Regions from separate parts of the Homo sapiens genome. Here region 1 is linked to region 2. Evidence: promoter capture Hi-C in human tissues and cell types (Jung and others, 2019). All regions are on one chromosome and are shown on one strand. Each heading gives the region's core, a stretch centred on a gene start or on the middle of the fragment in contact. The rest is flanking DNA. Distances are from core to core; before and after follow the strand shown. Region 1 overlaps PLCXD3 (phosphatidylinositol specific phospholipase C X domain containing 3). Region 2 holds the start of MROH2B (maestro heat like repeat family member 2B).

Region 1 (3,226 bases), core at 82-2,581, 280 kb before region 2:
TTCTTCTCCTAATATCATCTTCATCTGTCCCAAACTTTAGCCTGACCAGCACTCCCCTGTGCCCACTCTTCATGGAATCACAAGTATGTTACATGCAACCCACTCTCGTGACTAGGGCAGCATGCATGGATAGAAGACATCATTTGGTGAATGAAGGCAATGCAAAGATGTTCATTTCCTTTAAACATATAAAGTCTGTGTCAAAGCAGTTACAAAAAAATCCCTAAGCATAGTCTTCCAGCTCCCCTAGCTGATATTGAGGTCCTCTCCAGGAGTAGCAGGGAAAGGGCTTGGATGGAGCATAAGTGGACATTGACAACTGATGGCTGACTGAGTTCATGAAAAGGGTGTGGCTTCAGGTTGAAACAGGAGCATAGGGGTTGGATTATGATATTATGGTTCTTACTTCAGACAAGTACTTATTGCCTAGAAAGATAATTATGCAAGCTGCAGTGTTCTGGAATGCATTATCTCTATTCTAGTTGGAAAAGTGTTGTTCTAAACACTTTGTAGTTCTTTGTAGCTCTGTCCATTTTATGATCTCCAAAGACAGAAGAATCATTCACATTCCATAATCCATCAGATTAGGAGATATGTTATGTAAAACTCCACGGGTATTTTCTGTCTGTCATATAATCAAGAGACTACCTATTTCTACACTCTTGGTAGACTAAGGCCTGGTATCAGTCTAGTGTTAAGGAAGGAGCAGGATGGTGGCACAGTGAGGTTTGTCTTGGAGTAAAGAGGAACAACTGGAGAAAGGGAAGCTTGATGTGTGTCTATATTCAGATGGAAGATTTTTCTTTAGTCATAGAAAACTACATGTTTTCTGTGGAGGTAAGACAGCATACCATTTGGGGAAACTTCAAGTGGCTTTGTGTGCTGTAATGTGGCATTTGGAATTAGTGCAAAAGATTAATCTAGAGAAAGAATAATGGTTCATATTATAAGGGGCCTTCCTTGGATTTCATGCTAAGAAATTTGAGGGTTTTCCTGAGAAGAGTGAAGACAAATTAAAGGATTTGAAGAATTTTATGCAGGGAACTAACATGATCAGATTTGGATTTAGACAAATCACTCTATCTACAGTTTAAAAAAATGAGTTTGAGTGAGACAATATTACAGGTAGGGAAACCAAAGAGGAGTTATCACACCAACATCCCCAAAGGAGCACGGGCTTCTATTTTTGCTACCCAGGATCTAGGTACATGATATAGTCAGTACATGTGTGTCATTGAATGAGGCTGTGGCAAGTAATTTAGATACCATATGACTATGGGCTAAACTGAGGTGTGGTCATAGGAATTGAAAAAAATGGACAGAGATTTAAAATATGTTAGTGAGGTAGAATCTAAAGGAGTTGAACAATTGGCTTGTTTTAGGGAAAGGGGAGGAAATGAGGAGTCAAAGAAAAAAAAGAGAGAAGCTTCTGGCTTAGGTCACTTCTGATGCCATTCACTGAAGTCAGAAACATTGGGCATAGAGCAAGTTGAGGGAGGGATGATGACCATTTGCTTCAAATATGAAGACTCTGAGAGGTTTGTAGGACATTCAGGTCCTGCTGATCATAAGTCTGCTTGGATAGAAGAGCCTGGTTCTCTAGCATCCAGAGAGAAGTCCGGGCTGCAAAAGTAGTTTGGGAGGTTGTAAATATCTAGCTGGGAATTAAAGCTATAGGAATATCATTGAGAGATAATTAGAATCCATAAAGGATTGGCTGGAACTCTGATAATCATCACATTTTAGGCTTGGGCAGAAGAAAAGTGGTTGCAAAAAAGCTGTGGGGCTACCAAAAGTTGGAAGAAAATAGAAAAAAGTCTAGAGGAAGTATGGATTCTCAGAAACCAGTGGAAGGTATTTCATGAAAAATGGGCACATATTCTAGGCACCAAAGATATAAAGATAAAAGAAACAGTTCTTATCTAGAGAAGTTCAAATTCTGGTGAGGCAGCTATCTGTAGTTCAGTAGAAAATTCAGAGTCATTGATACCCACAGTAGAGAAATAAGTTACTACTGGAGCCCAGAGAAAACGTGTCTCTACCACACCACCAACTCCTAAGTCTCCAACTAGAACAAACTCAGAAGAAAAGAATCCTGAACTATTGCTTCCCCAGTGAGTGATTTCATCACACAACGTAACTCCATATTTTACCTAATAATTCATTTATTATCTTTCTCCCTTCAATAAAAGCGAAGCTACACAAAGGCATGGATTTTTTTCTCTTTTGCTCACTCTTGTGTCTCCAGAGCCTAGAACAATTCCTGGCATATAGTAGATGCTCAATAAATATTTGTTGAATGAATAAAAATATCAAGCCTACATACATACAAGGTGTTTACTGACCTCAGACCATATCCCAGGAAATCCTACTTATATAAAACTCCTGATATGAATTTATTTTCTTGTGTTTTGCTTTTTCTCTTAAAAGCTGAGTGTGTAGGCAGGGCACGGTAGCCCACGCCTGTAATCCCAGCACGTTGGGAGGCCGAGGCGGGCAGATCATGAGGTCAGGAGATTGAGACCATCCTGGCAAACACAGTGAAACCCTGTCTCTACTGAAAAAAAAAAAAATACAGAAAATTAGCCGAGCATGGTGGCGGGCGCCTGTAATCCCAGCTACTCGGGAGGCTGAGTCAGGAGAATGGCATGAACCCGGGAGGTGGAGCTTGCAGTGAGCGGAGATCGCGCCACTGCACTCCAGCCTGGGCAACAGAGCGAGACTCTGTCTCAAAAAAAAAAAAAAAAAGCTGAGTGTGCAACATGTTGGTTTTGACTGAACATTCCAGTAGTTAAACCAAAAGTTCACTGTGCCATGAGGATTATTCAAACCTCTAGCAAACCTTCTTAGCCATGATAGGCACTGGCTTTAAATCATATGAGAAAGTCGTCATATTTTCTTGCTCTTTAAGATTTTTCACTAAGGAGATTGTCCTTCAAATAAGTCAAACCCTGGGAAGTATTCTACAATCAGTGATGACACAATGGGCCTTTCTTGTAATTAACTCCACTCTTTAGAACTCTCCTAGAAAATTACCTCAAACTTAAAAAAAAATTACTCAGCTACAAAGAGAATGATTTGTTAAAAAACCATTTGTCTCCCTGAACAAAGAATTTTTCAGCTGTTAAGAATTCTTCAGATGTGTATTTGTTTTATACTTGGATAACTAAGACAACTAGGTCTTAAAAATTTTAGATTCTACTAGTGCAGAATGCTTAATAGAGAA
Region 2 (3,283 bases), core at 80-2,579:
AGCAAATCAGCTATTTTGAGGATTTGGGGATTTTAAAACTATCTGCAGTATTGGTTTCAATGAGTGAATTTACTTTGTCTGAAAGGATTTTAGCAAAAAGTTGTGTTTTGATTGCAGCGATGAATAAATTAAAAGTCAAAATAAATCAATTATCTCCTAACTTCTCTAATCTCTATGAAATCAAGGAAGTCTTTATATACAGACATACAGAAAAATCATTTGTCACCATTCACAAAAATATTAAGAAAATGGTTGTAACAATTACCTAAATGGCTAGCTTTCTTATTATTGATTCTGCTGTACATTGTTTTTTAAGACTCTAAGAGCACATAATTTCTAACATCATTTTTTCCCTTATAGGGAATCTGTTGTTTTATTTACTACAAGTAGACTTAACATCTTATAGATGTTAAGAGTTTCGGGATGCCTCTAATCACCCCAGTACCTCCCTGACTAACCAAACTTGGCCTATTCTTCAGTGAGTCATGATGCTGGGGAAGAGCTCCTTGCCCAACCACAACAAACATTCTTCAGTTAACTGCTATTTACTGATCCACTAATGAATGTTTGGGCAAGGACCTTGGTCAGTGCTTTTCAAAGTTCAGTGAACCTAAGAATCACCAGGGGCGCACATTAAATATATAGATTGCTGCCCCCTCATTCTAATTTACTGGGTCTGAAGTGGGGCCTGGGAATTCACATTTTAAATAAGGATACCAAGTAAATCCCATGATAAAGTCACCTGGAGACAAAACTCTGAAAGTGATGCTGACTTGGGAAGCGGAAAATGTTGAGGATCTCTTTAATACAGTGCAAAATGTCTATGAGAAGAATGATGAATTCAAAGGTTTAGTTGGAAGCAGTTGACCTTTGAATCTGGAATAAGCTTCACCGATGAAGTTAAGATGGCCAAAAAAGCAGCAGCAGATGAAAATTGTCATGAGCTCCCCTCCTCAGCCCATTCTACATTTAGCCCTATAGACTAGCAGTACTGCCTTCCCTTTCTCTATCATCCTCCATATTCACATAGAGTCTGGACATATATTGAAGATTGTCATCACATAGATTTATAGTTGGGGACCAGATTTCAATTCATGCTAGATAAGTTGAAAACATTATGGAAAATTGATCTAGATAAAAAATAATTTGAAAACAAAAAGAAAGCTGAAGACAGAGAAAAAGCCTGAGCCTGGAGTGAGGCCAAGATCCTGAACATGCCAGGGAGGAATTAATGGAGAGGGAGGTAGAGAGGTCTTCACTTTGCTGCTGTCAGTTGGACATTCCATCCAACTGCCCCTGAAGTGCATTCCAGTCCACTGAGCATGCTCAGTTCATATGACTGATTTTCACTAAGTGTAACAATCAACGAGTTCACCATAAAGCCTTTCCCAACATCAGGACAGTAAAGCAACTACTGAAAACCATTCCTGAATTTGTGATCAATGGACTCAAGTTTAGGGAGAGGAGCACCTTTGGTCTGCAACAATGGTTTGAATCCCAGTCTCTAATTACTTCTTTCCCAAATACTCTGGTCACCAAAGGGACAATATTTGGTGAGATGCAGCCATTTTGTTGGTTAGCAGGAGTTCAGACGCAAGACAATGTCATAGTGGTAGAATACAGTATCAACTTCAACAGCAAGCCCATCTCTGGAAGCTCCCAGACCATTGTGCCAATCAAGTGGAGGAGGCACTTTCATTTAGAGAGGCTTATGTGAACCTTATATGAGAAACTTGCCAACCTGCCTCTTTGATTTTTTAGCCTTACTATTTCTAATACTTAGGTGCTATCTTTTAGAGACCCTGAAACAGCCAAGACATGACACTTAGTACAGAGGAATCCATAGGTAAGCATCATCAGATCCTGAGAAGCCAAGGCTCTTCCCTGTGTTTTGTTTCTGTGGAATTATAAGTATATATGAGGGCTGGGAGTGGCGCGTCATTGTGGGAGGACTGTACACCTCAAAGGATTTATGAAATGGTATGCTAAATACATAATAAAATCATGCTGATTGTGAAGGACCAATAATAGACTGGAAGCCTAAGAGATGGTTGTGCTTTAAAATTTAGAGTCTACCTGAGGAGAAAGTGGCTACATATCAAAGAAAGGCAGTTTGTTATTTAATTTTAAATACTAGAAGAGTCCTTTGGAAGTATTTCTCCCAATTTCCAGGTATGGCTGCCTTTCTACTTTGCCAAAAAGATTGCCCTAAATGAGTATGTTGTTTGGTGTGGAGGTTAATAAGAAATCTTCATCTCCAAAAGTATTTCTCCTACCAACTTGCCATGTAGCTTGAAATTGCTCAATTCCTTTGACTCAATTTTTTTTCCAGTTTTCTAGAGTGCTTTATTCAAAAACATATATTCCTAGAAAATGCAAGTCAAACACATTTAGGTCATTGTCAGAAAACAGGAAGCCTTCATTAGCATGTGACCAAAAGAGGGAGTTGGCAGGCACAGGAGAATAGGTGGAGTTGAAAAGGGTATGGAAAAAGAAGATGGGAGAGGTATTGAGGGGAGGACCAGTGAAAAATAAACAGCTATGTTGCACCCCTGCCTTCTAATGCTTAAGTCAGGAGTGAGAAATTCACCTCATTGACTCTGAGAGCTAAATCCTGCAAGAGAGAATTTACAAGGCAATGCCCACTTGCCTGGAGGGATACATAGGAATCCGGCATCTTTTATCTTCCCTTTCACATTTGATTCAGGTTTCAAAAATAATAATAACTTAGCATCTGCTAGTTTCATTTATGTCATGGATATGAATAAAACAGTTCCTGCCATCAAAGAGCTAGCAGTCAAGGGAGAGAGAGAGAGAGAGGATAAATGAATGAATGAACTTTCTGTGTTGATTACAAAATAATTAACAGGAGGGCATTTCAGCATATATTTCAATTCATATTTTTCTGTACGTTTTAGAGATGTTTGGGGATATTAACCTCACTCTTGGCATGCTGAACAAGGAAGATATTGTTAACAAGGTAGGGAAAACAGAGAAAAATCTTTTTCCCTTTTTCAGTCTTCTTGTTGCAACATTTCGTATATATTTTTCTTTGTCTCAACTTTCTCATTTTTCTCTGGCTTGTTACATGGCATTAGATTTTTCAGTAAATGCAGTTGTAATGAAAGTCATTGTAATGTTTAAGCAATGATATTTGGCATTTCAAGAATCACAGCATCTATGTCTAGAAAATAGCAAAAAAAAAGTTCCTTTTTATAACTTTATACAGGCAGATGTTGAAAGGTGTATGTCAGACTTACAAACATGTGGATGAGACTGTTTC

What was found. Contacts are between HindIII fragments. The study calls those that stand out against the background at their distance.
Region 1: a fragment that was not itself captured here is called in contact with the fragment with the promoter of MROH2B in region 2 in 2 of the 25 tissues and cell types used here (dorsolateral prefrontal cortex and stomach).

What each region holds. Positions count from the first base shown.
Region 1 is chr5:41,352,616-41,355,841 of GRCh38, reverse strand. The region is part of intron 2 of PLCXD3 (phosphatidylinositol specific phospholipase C X domain containing 3); the gene reads left to right. Among named protein-coding and RNA genes, the nearest start is that of C6, 140 kb to the right of the region's middle. The HindIII fragment of the contact is 3,710 bases long and covers 1-3,186 here.
Region 2 is chr5:41,069,388-41,072,670 of GRCh38, reverse strand. MROH2B (maestro heat like repeat family member 2B) reads left to right here and starts at 1,329. Exons shown (of 42, transcript NM_173489.5): 1 at 1,329-1,846; 2 at 2,919-2,980. The coding sequence starts at 1,819. LOC105374739 (a long non-coding RNA gene) reads right to left here and starts at 1,314. Exons shown (of 6, transcript XR_001742650.2): 1 at 743-1,314. The HindIII fragment of the contact is 9,443 bases long and covers 1-3,283 here.